2 separate regions of the Homo sapiens genome follow, and region 2 is linked to region 1. The links are contacts of gene promoters, found by promoter capture Hi-C in human tissues and cell types (Jung and others, 2019). All regions are on one chromosome and are shown on one strand. The core of a region is centred on a gene start or on the middle of the fragment in contact, and the rest is flanking DNA. Distances in the headings are between cores, read along the strand shown. Region 1 holds the start of FAM219A (family with sequence similarity 219 member A). Region 2 overlaps UBAP1 (ubiquitin associated protein 1).

Region 1 (5,393 bases), core at 699-3,198:
AGACCTAAGAAAGTCAGGTCCATCTGCTACAGAAGCCCAGGTAAAAGAGGCAGAGGAGCAAAGGCTAACATGGAGGTGGCCAGACCAAAATATGCAAAGTCATAAGTAGCATGGAGATTGGCTCTCTAAACCTCAATGTACCTAGACTTGAGTGGGGTAAATCTGGAATAAATATATAGAAGTCCTGCTTTCCAGAGCTAGAAACTACACATTAGCCTGAGTGGTAATTCATAAAGGGTTTGGAAAAAGTTCCTGAAGGACTGAGTTGCTTCACCACAGAAGACTCCTTGGGAAACTGGGACTGCCTTGCCTTCCGTGGTGATGCTGAGGAAGAAAGCAGAACTCTGTGCTCAGTGGGTTAAGTGGGGGATGACTCGGGTTTCCTGTGAGAAGGGATGACATCTGTCCAGGTGGTAATAAGAGCATAATGTTCACATAGCTGAATGAATCATAGGAGTGGACCAGGGGCTCGCAGGGAAGAGAGAGATATGAGGCTCTAGAAATAGTTGGGGCAGAGTGTTTGGGTTGTGCACTGTGGGGGTGAGGACAGGGATGAGAAAAGGGCCTCTCTCCTCTTCCTCTTTGCCTGCCCTTTCTCTCCTCATAAATCTCCCAGCACAGAAAATAAAATCACACTCCTGCACATAGCCTGTCCTGTATTCTGTTTAGTTCTCTTGCACACCCTCTGTGGGCTCCCAAACAGCAAGAGCTGTGTTCCCACCTAGCCTGGAGCTAGGCACACAGCAAAGGGTTGGATAAAGAATGCCTTTGAGGCTGGGCGCCGTGGCTCACGCCTGTAATCCCAGCACTTCGGAAGGTCAAGGTAGGAGGATCGCTTGAGCTCAGGAGTTAGAGACGGGCCTGGGCAACATGGGGAAACCCCGTCTCTACCAAAAACACAAAATTTAGCCGGGCGTGGTGGCCTATGCCTTTGGTTCCAGCTATTCGTCAGGCTGAAGTGGGAGAATCGCTTGCACCCAGGAGGCAGAGGTTACAGAGAGCTGAGATGGCGCCACTGCATTCTAGCCTGGGCTACAGGGCGAGCCTCTGTCTCAAAAAAAAAAAAAGAAAGAAAGAAAGAAAAAGAAAAAGAAAAATTCCTTTGGGACAAGAATGTGAGAACAAGGAGGAAGGGACTCGTGGGAATGGGGATGGGGAAGTTAAGGAGAATAGACTGGTCAGAATGAGTCCATGGGGTAAAGTGAAGTGAAGAGATGGGAATGGTGGATAAAAGGAGAGAGGTAAGAAACGGTGGATTGGGGTAGTATGGGAGAGGAGGCCGGGATTAGTGGGAAAGAGTAGGACAGAGTCAGAGGTCAGTGGGAGCACTTACCAGAGGTCACGGGGGTGAGAAGGCTGGGGTCAACAGAGAAAAGATCAAGGATCAGTAGGAGAGGTATGATTAGTGGTCACTGGCGACGACGAAGGTCAGAGGTCATCAGAAGGAAGGTGTGCGTACGTTACCTGCTTATGAGGCTGTTTATGGGGAGCCTTCGCAGAAGCAGGAATCATCTCAACCCCTGGAGAGCCTACAAAACGCTCCCTCGTCTGAAGACAAAAAGTTTGTCCGTCTCCTTGACCACACACAAGAAATCTGGACTCTCTTCCACTTCAGTTACCAGTCGCAACGGTTCTTTAGGGACAGCCGTCGTTGTGGGTCCCCGTGCCCTTGCAGGATAGAATCCAACTCCCTGACGCGGTTACCCAGCAACCGACCAGCAGCCAAGGCGCAGGCGCTTCGGCGCGCCCAGCCGGCCCGGAAAGGAGGCGGGGTTGGGCGCGCGGCGAGCGAGTCTCCACTAAGCCCCGCCCCCTCAGGAATCACAGCTGGGCGGCCGCGCGCATTCGGAACTCCCGCATGTGGGTGGGGCTGGGGTCCCCAGGCACCGCCTCCTCATGAATAATGCAAGATCCGGGCGGTGTCCCGGACCCGGAAGTGGAGTTGCCGAGTCACCGCAGTGGCTGAGCTGCTGACAGGAGGCGGCAGCGGAGTAGGAGGCGAGGCAAGACCTGCGGCTCGGCCCGGCCACAGCCGCGGTAGTGCTAGGCAAGCCCACGGAGTCACGCCGGCCTCAGCCAGTCTGCGAACCTCTCGCCCCCGCCCACCCCTGCATCCGCCCGGCCCCTGCCCGCCCGAGTGGTCCGGGGAGGCCTAGTCTGCACCACCCGCCGGGCTCCTGGGGCCGCCGCCCCGCGCGGTCCTGTCGGCGTCCGCGGCCGCGCCCGGCCCCTGGCCCGCTCGCCCGCCGGCACCATGATGGAGGAGATCGACCGGTTCCAGGTGCCCACCGCGCACTCGGAGATGCAGCCGCTGGTGAGGGGGCGGGCGGCGGGCAGGCCAAGGCCGGAGGGGGCGTCGCTTGAGGGGGAGGGAGGGAATCAGGCCGGGGGGATCGTGCGGAGGGGCGCCATCGGATGGGGCAAAGAGATCCCTGAAAACGTATTGCCGGGGGACGGGGACTTGCAGGACAAGAAAACCGTGGGAGAATATGCTGGATGAGAGCAAAGGGACCTGTAAGGGCGGAGGGCACCGTCGGTGGAAGCAGGGCACCGTCGGATGGAACGGAGGGGGCACAAAGGTGCACACCGCTAGTGGAGGCCCATAGCAGGGACTGGCGAGGGAACTGCCATGGGGCACCGCCGGCGGCAGGCCCAGGGGTCTGGGATGGGAGGTGGGGAGGCGTTTAGTCCTAGAGGCCTGTGATGCTTAGGGCGGGGGAGCCGTCAGGCTAAGAGAGATTGGGAATCAGCTTTTAGAAGAGGAGGGGCTTGCCCGCCTGTCCGCTGGATATACGGACAGGAACGCTGGGCCGGGGCGAGGGACCCAGTGGGGGAAGGTGGTTGGTGCAGAACCTGGGAATTCCGTTCTCCGGTGGGGAGCGCAGGCAGACCAGGCTGGGGGCATCTAAACCGGGAAGGAGAGTGCGCGGCGACCAGATGGGGAATCGGGGTGCAGATGAGAGTGCTCGGGAACCGACGGGAGAGGAAGTGGGGTCGCGCTGGAGCTGCCTGTGCGCACTGGTTGGGAAGAGCCCCCATCATCTTAGGCCTACGTGCCTGAAGTCCTTGCTGGGCGCGGATCCTGCCGCCTGTCCGCGGTCCCGGAGTCAGGGAGGAATGATGTCATCGCTGCTGGCGCGGAGGGAATGGAAGGGGGAGGGCAACTCGGGTGCACCGAGGCTAGGCCTAAGGGAGACCATGCTTGCTGGCCACCGCCCAGGGGGCTCCCTGACCTCGCTTGTCTGTCAGGCAACCGGGTGGGAGACGTGGAGGCCTAGCCAGCTCGTATAGTGAGGGGGGAAGAGAGGGAATGTCTAGGCTGTGTTCGCTTTATCCCCCTGGAGCCTGAGCTGGAATTGGAAGGAGGCAAGGTGGGCTACAAATCCGAAAGTGTGGATGCCCCATTTCTCTGAGCTGTGCTGGCTGGAGCAGAGCTGAGTTCTCCAAGTTCTGAAGTTCTGCTTCTGTGTTAGGCAGGGTGGCCAGAAACAGGTCTACCCTTGGGCCTATAACCCCCTGGCTGACAGATGTGCTTTGTAGCTTCCTGGGCGAGTAACCTACCCATTACAGCAGCCAAGATGGGCCTCGGCAGGGACCCATCACCACCTTTTTGTCACACCTTTTGAGGGATGGTAGAGAGAATCATTAGTGGCCACTTAGCAGGAGACAAAGGCTTTTTCCCCCTTTCATGACTGCTTAGACAGTTCTAAGAGCCAAAACAAAGAAGTTTTACAGAAGCATACAATATTAAACCGGAGAGAGGTGTTGCAGGACTTTTTCCTAGCCTCATGCCATCATTGGATTATTTGGGAGCCAGAAAATCCTGGAGAGAAGTCCATCCCATGAACTTAAAGAAGGACTTTGGGCTGGCTGAAGATAATTTTCCTTTCTGAGTTCTCTTTCTAGCTAACCTGGCTTGTCAAACGAGATTGCCCTTCCAGTTCTAAGCATCTAATCAAGAATCAAAATAGAGGGTGGATGAAGGAAGAGGAGGTTCAAGTGTGTCAGGAAAAGGAAGCAATGAGTTGTTTCTTGTCACCCATCTGGGGTTCTCAAAAAGGAAGGAAATAGCTGTTCAAGGAAAGGGGAGAAGAAATAGAGCCACCAGGCTCTCAGTTGTCCTTGGTGCTTCTGTTATTGCCTGAAATTCTGAATAGTGGTTTGGCTGGGTAGAGAACTCTTGAGCTGCTTCCGGTCTGTGTGGCCCTGGAGTTGGAGAAGCATCTGTGGCAAGGAGGCACTTAGAAAAGCTCTGACTGCCTTCAGACCCCTTTAACTGCTAAAGTCACCCTTGTGCAAGAGAATACTTTTTTTTCTTTTTTTTTGAGACAGGGTCCCTCTCTGTCACCCAGGCTAGAGTGCAGTGGCACGATCTTGGCCCAATGCAACCTCCACCTCCTGGATTCAAGCGATTCTCCTACCTCAGCCTCCCAAGTAGCTGGGATTATAGGCCCCTGCCACCACGCATGGCTAATTTTTGTATTTTTAGTAGAGACAGGGTTTCGCCATGTTGGCCAGGCTGGTCTTGAATGCCTGACCTCAAGTGGTCTGCCTGCCTCGGCCTCCCAAAATGCTAGGATTACAAGAGTGAGCTGCTATGCCCGGCCTGAGAATACTTTATTGAGTTTGAGTGAGAGCCTTATGGAAATAGCAATATAGTCATCCCTCATTTGAGGGTCATAGACATTGCCCCGCTTCCTGACCTCTGTCCCCAGGTTGTATTCCAGAGGCACCTCAAAACCCTTTAAATACCCTGTGTATTGTTGAGACCAGCAGAATCTTGTGTGATGTTTCTTCAGGAGTCTTCATTTTGGGGCATAAAGAATTAAGATAGTCCAGCCTGGGAAACACAGTGAGACTCCATCTCTACAAAAATATTTAAAATTAGCTCAGCATGGTGCTGCATGCCTGTAGTACCAGCTACTCAGGAGGCCGAGGCAGGAGGATTGCTTGAGCCCAGGAGGTTGAGGCTGCAGTGAGCCGTGTGCCTACCACTACATTCCAGCCTGGGCAACAGAGCAAGACTCTGTCTCCAAAAAAAAAAAAAAAAAATCAAGATAGCATATCATAGAGGTAAAGGGCAAAAAAGAGGGCAAAGTGGCTCTTTAAGGGTATTTGGATAGGCCATAAAAACCAGGGTCCCAGGCTCAGACTTAGCTATGACCTATTTCATTTTTTTGCCATTTATTGAGACCTCTAGGAAGTCTCTCCTCCTTCCTCGATTGTTTTTCCATTTATGAGATGAAGACAAACTATCTCTTTAAAGTTTAAACAATAGCTCCTCACTCTCCCTTCTAAAGAATACCACAGAGACCTGATATCATTGATTCAGCAATTGGTTTACCAAATAATTATTGAGCATCTGCTCTGTCCCAAATATTAAACTGAGTATT
Region 2 (5,729 bases), core at 1,393-3,892, 270 kb after region 1:
ACTTGTGATTTTAAAAAAATACATTAGCCAGGCTTGGTGGCTCATGCCTATAATCCCAGCACTTTGGGAAGCCAAGGTGGGAGGTATGCTCGAGGCCAGGAGTTTGAGACCAAACTGGGCAACATAGCAAGACCCCCATCCCTAAAGAAAATTGAAAAATAAAAAAAGAGTTCAAGGCTGAGAGAGATTGGTTTTAAAACTGGAAAGATGAACTAGAAGTGTAGATCTTTTTTTTTTTTTTTTTTTTTTGAGATGGAGTCTCATTCTATCCACCCAGGCTAGAGTGCAGTGGCGTGACCTCGGCTCACTGCAACCTCCACCTCCCGGGTTCAAGTGATTCTCCTGTCTCAGCCTCCTGAGTAGCTGGGATCACAGGCGTGCGCCACCATACCCGGCTAATTTTTGTATTTTCAGTAGAGACGGGGTTTCACCATGTTGGTCAGGCTGGTCTCACATTCCTGACCTCATGATCCACCCACCTCAGCCTCCCAAAGTGCTGGGATTACAGGCATGAGCCACCGCGCCTGGCCTGAACTTTAGATCTTTCAACTCACTGTCCACAGTTCTGCCATTACAATACAAGCTCTCATAGCAAAAGACACTATTTAAAAAGTTTATACAGGCCGGGGACCGTGGCTCATGCCTGTAATCCCAGTACTTTAGGAGGCCATGGAGGGACGATCACTTGAGGTCAGGAATTAGAGACTAACCTGGGCAACACAGCAAAACCCCATCACTAAAAAAAAAAATTTAATTAAAAAAATTTTTTTTAAATTTAAAAAATTAAAAAAAAAAATCCAAGGCTGAGAGAGGTTGGTTTTTAAACAGGAAAGCTGAACTAGGACTTTTTTTGTTCACAAATCCACTTTTACTTTTTAGTAGTTTAAATCCTTGAGGGGTACAACATCACGTGAATTCTGTGTCCAAACGGCCTCAGCAGGAAGATTCCTTTGGAATTTGGCATGTCTGTTTCCATGGGCGCAAATTATCTTTCCACAGATTACTCTGGTTTTGTTTGGTTTGCCACCAGGAGTCACTGTGTTGTTCTTTGCTTTGTATACATAAGCACAAATCTCTTGCCCAAACAGAATTCAGCTTCATCTCAGGCATAAACACCTTCGATTTAAAAACAGTTGTGTGCTCTCTTTGATTCTGGAGACCACACTTACAGCCAACAAAAAATGGCCTTGGACCACAGCCTTCCAGACATATTTGCCTTTTAGAAGTCCTATTCCCAGCAGGCCTCTAAAAGCTTCAAGATGGTGGAAAAAGTGAACTACAACTTTCGATCTTTCAACTCACTGTCCAGAGTTCTGCCATTACAATATCATCCCTCATGGCTAAAGACACTATTTTAAAGTTTACACAGGCCAGGCACAGTGGATCACACCCACAATCCTGGTGCTTTAGGAGGCCAAGGTGGGAAGACTGCTTGAGGCCAGAAGTTTCAGACCAGGGAACATAGCAAGACCCCATCTCTATAAATAAATAAATACAAACTCTCAAGCCCACACCAGAGCTACTGACTCAGAATCTACATTTTAATAATACATCCAAGTTATCCATACACACACTAAAACTTTGAGAATCACTGACCTACAACAGTGCTGTCCAGCAGAACTTTCTACACTGATGAAAATGTTTTATATCTCCACTGTCAATGTTGGAGACATATCAGACAGGACAGATACAGAATGTCTCAAATTAGAACTGCACCTAAACATAATTTCTTATACTACTAAATGAAATAAATCTCCATTACTCTAATATATATATGCTCTTCCACTAAATATAATGCCAGTAATATATCCAGAGCAGGCTGGGCACTGTGACTCACACCTGTAATTCCAACACTTTGGGAGGCCGAGGCAGGTGGATCACCTGAACTTAGGAGTTTGAGACCAGCCTGTGCAACATGATGAAACCCCATCTCTACAAAAAATACAAAAAAAAAAAAAAAAAGAGCCAGGCATGGTGGCATGAGCCTGCAGTCCCAGCTACTCGGGAGGCTGAGGTAGGAGAATCACCTGAACCCAGGAAGTCAAGGCTGCAGCAGTGAGCTGTGACTGCATCACTGCACTCCAGCCTGGGCAACAGAGCGAGACCCTGTCTCCAAAAAAAAAAAAAAAAAGAAAGAAAGAAAGGAAAAAAGATTCCCTATTAAATTACAAGAACTGCCAGGCATGGTGGCTCAAGTCTGTAATCCCAGCACTTTGGGAAGCTGAGGAAGGTGGATCCCCTGAGATCAGGAGTTCAAGACCAGCCTGGCCAACATGGTGAAACCCCATCTCCACTAAAAATAAAAAATTTAGCCAGGCATGGTGGCAAGGGCCTGTAATCCCAGCTACTCAGGAGGCTGAGGCAGGAGAATCGCTTGGACCCAGGAGGCAGAGGTTGCAGTGAGCCAAGACCACACCACTGCACTCCAGTCTGGGTGACAGAGTGGGACTCCACCCCAAAAAATAAATAAATTACAAGAACTAGCTAATATTTCTTCTTCAAGAAAACGGATAGGACACGACATAAACAATTAAAGACCTTCCGTGATTTTTGTTTAAGATTTTATTAACATTAAATTTTTTTAACTTTTAAGTTCAGGGGTACATGTGAAGGTTTGTTACATAGGTAAACTTGTGTCATGGGGGTTGTTGTACAGATTATTTCATCACCCAGGTATTAAGCCTGGTATCCATTAGTTATTTTTCCTGATCCTCTCCCTTCTATTTTTGCTAAAGTATTTTCAGAAAACAAAAGTTGTTAAGTTTGTTTCCTTTGGCTAGAATATCTCGGAAATATAATAAACCTTTGATGAAAGAATTAAATATGTCTGGCCAGGAGCAGTGGCTCACACCTGTAATCCCAGCACTTTGGGAGGCTGAGGCGGGTAGATCACCTGAGGTCAGGAGTTCAAGTCCAGCCAGACCAACACGGAGAAACACCGTCTCTACTAAAAATACAAAATTAATCGAGCATGGTGGAGCACGCCCGTAATCCCAGCTACTCGGGAGACTGAGGCAGGAGAACTGCTTGAACCCAAGAGGCAGAGGCTGCAGTAAGCCAAGATTGTACCATTGCACTCCAGCCTGGGCAACAAGAGCAAAACTCCGTCTCAAAAAATAATAATAATAATAATAATTTCCAAATTTGAAAGTTCACAAACTACCCCTAAAGTCTGCTCCAGCAGTGATTTTTAATTTGGCTGACCATTTGACCTTGAATTCCACCCATGCAGCCAGATCACTTCTCTCATGAGGTATCCTATAAGACATAATGATCGGCCGGGTGCGGTGGCTCATGCCTGTAATCCCAGCACTTTGGGAGGATGAGGCAGGTGGATCATTTGAGTTCAGGAGTTTGCGACCAGCCTAGCCAACATGGTGAAACCCCATTTCTACTAAAAATATAAAAATTAGCCAGGCATGGTGGCACGTGCCTGTAATCCCAGCTACTCGGGAGGCTGAGGTGAAAGAATCACTTGAACCCTGGAGGAGGAGGTTGCAATGAGTCAAGATCGCACCACTGCACTCCAAGCTAGGCGACACAGCAAGACTCTGTCTTTAAAAAAAAAAAAAAAAGATATAATGATCTACTAGAAGAAAGAAATGGGGAAGTTACTGCCCATATCCTTCCCCATGAAACTACTGAAGGAAATGTTAACACTCCCAAACTATAGAAAGATTTTAGGATTAGGAAGATTCCATTCTTACCAGTAAGGATGCAAACCCCACCTGGGACCAAGACCATGATGATGAGATGAAGCAAAAGACAGGCAAAGCCAGCCTAATCTTTTTTATTTTTTATTTTTTGGAGATGGAGTTTCACTCTTGTCGGCCAGGCTGGAGTGCAATGGTACGATCTCGGCTCACCGAAACCTCTGCCTCCCGGCTTCAAGCAATTCTCCTGCCTCAGCCTCCTGAGTAGCTGGGATTACAGGAATCCACCACCATGCCTGGCTAATTTTTCTATTTTTAGGAGAGACAGGGTTTCACCATGTTGGCCAGGCTGGTCTCGAACTCCTGACCTCAGGTGATCCACACGCCTCAGCCTCCCAAAGTGCTGGGATTACAGGCGTGAGCCAACGCACCCGGCCCAAGACAGACTAATCTTGAGTTTCCAATAGGTTACTAAAGGAGGCTGGAATAGGCCAGTGGTAGTAACAAACAACAGAAAAAGGCAGGAAGTTAAAGGTAGCTGAAAGCACCAGGCATGGTGGCTCACGTCTGTAATCCCAGCACTTGGGGAGGCCGAAGCAGGTGAATTACTTGAGGCCAGGCATTTAAGACCAACCTGGGTACCAGGGCAAGATCCCATCTCTTTAAAAAAAAAAAAAAAAAAAAAAAAGCTGAAGACTAAGTTTAGCATTCAAATTGCTTTACTTTGTTGCTCTCTTCTATTTACCCATCAAATCTGATGGTAACTAAAAATTTCCTGTTACACTTTTCTGTATTTCATGAAGGACACTATAAACTATGGTAGTTACATAAGTACGGATTCCCAATGATCTAAGAGTATGCCTTTCATAAATGTCAAAGGTATACTATTTGTATAAATAAACAGTATTTGTGTTGTATTTTTAATCTGGTGGTTGTAAACAGTATTTGTAGTGTATTTTTAATCTGGTGGTTGTTTTACATTTCTTTTTTTTTTTTTTTAGTGAACCCAAATTACTCAGATGTTTTATATTTCAGTGTGATCCTCGCCCAGATCAAATACTTGACTCCTTAGAAGAATAATTCCTAAAGTCAAAGTAATCACTAGTCTTCTCATTGAAAAAAAGAAAAAATGTTTTTTAGCAGCTTTAATACACAACATAGAAAAATCAATGCCACCAAGATGTATATATGTATTTATACATATACCTTAAGTCATAAGGGTTTAATGGTAGATAGGAGACACACAAGTCCAAGGAACTGGACAGTTTTGTTTTTTTTTTTAAAAAAAGCAAAAAACATTCTTCTAAGATGTTTCCATATCAACTCTTCCACAATCTACAATTATTCTTGATAAGATAGGAGACACACAAGTCCAAGGAACCGGACAGAGTTTAAAAAAAAAAGCAAAATACATTCCTCTGTTTCCATATCAGCTCTTCCACAATCCACAACTATTCTTGATAAAGCCCAACACTGTAAAAACTAGACATCAAAAAAAATTTGAATATATTTTAGTGAAAGTGCTAACAGCTTAGACTGAATGACACACTATCAATTGTATATAATACTGTCCACACAAAGAAAGGTCTCATTGTCAAATCACATTAACATTTAATAAGATGCACATCTCATTCACAAATCTGTTGGTGTCTCAGTTTGGACAATGTATGAAACCCACATGTAAGGCACAATCCAACCTCCTTTTAAAACCCTGTGGCCCTATAACTCCAAAGATAATAAGAAAGCAACTTCTAAGAAGTCTGCCTTTGTAATCAAGCAAATATTGGAAATAAATGTCAGATGAGATATACCACATTATAGATAGGTATACTACTGTATTTATTAAAACAACATGCCTGGCAGCAAAGAAGGATTTCCCAAATTTGATACAACAAGCACAAACCAGCCGGGCGCAGTGGCTCACGCCTGTAATCCCAGCACTTTGGGAGGCCCAGGCGGGTGGATCACCTGAGGTCAGGAGTTCAAGACCAGCCTGACCAATATGATGAAACCCTGTCTCTACTAAAAATACAGAAATTAGCTGGGCGTGGTGGCAGGCACCTGTAATCCCAGCTA

Evidence for each region. Contacts are between HindIII fragments. The study calls those that stand out against the background at their distance.
Region 2: a contact is called between a fragment that was not itself captured here and the fragment with the promoter of FAM219A in region 1, in 1 of the 25 tissues and cell types used here (adrenal gland).

Annotation. Positions count from the first base shown.
Region 1 is chr9:34,455,125-34,460,517 of GRCh38, reverse strand. It overlaps FAM219A (family with sequence similarity 219 member A), which reads left to right and starts at 1,948. Exons shown (of 6, transcript NM_001184940.2): 1 at 1,948-2,314. The coding sequence starts at 2,255. DNAI1 (dynein axonemal intermediate chain 1) reads right to left here and starts at 1,713. Exons shown (of 20, transcript NM_012144.4): 1 at 1,465-1,713. The coding sequence starts at 1,512. RefSeq lists enhancers at 1,587-1,656, 1,753-2,047, 1,610-2,150, 3,282-3,782 and a silencer at 2,027-2,276. The HindIII fragment of the contact is 10,660 bases long and covers 1-5,393 here.
Region 2 is chr9:34,187,036-34,192,764 of GRCh38, reverse strand. All of the region lies in intron 1 of UBAP1 (ubiquitin associated protein 1), which reads right to left. It overlaps LOC114224 (a long non-coding RNA gene), which reads right to left. Exons shown (of 1, transcript XR_158845.6): 1 at 4,633-5,729. It also overlaps the pseudogene RPL35AP2. Among named protein-coding and RNA genes, the nearest start is that of UBAP1, 11 kb to the right of the region's middle. The HindIII fragment of the contact is 5,102 bases long and covers 92-5,193 here.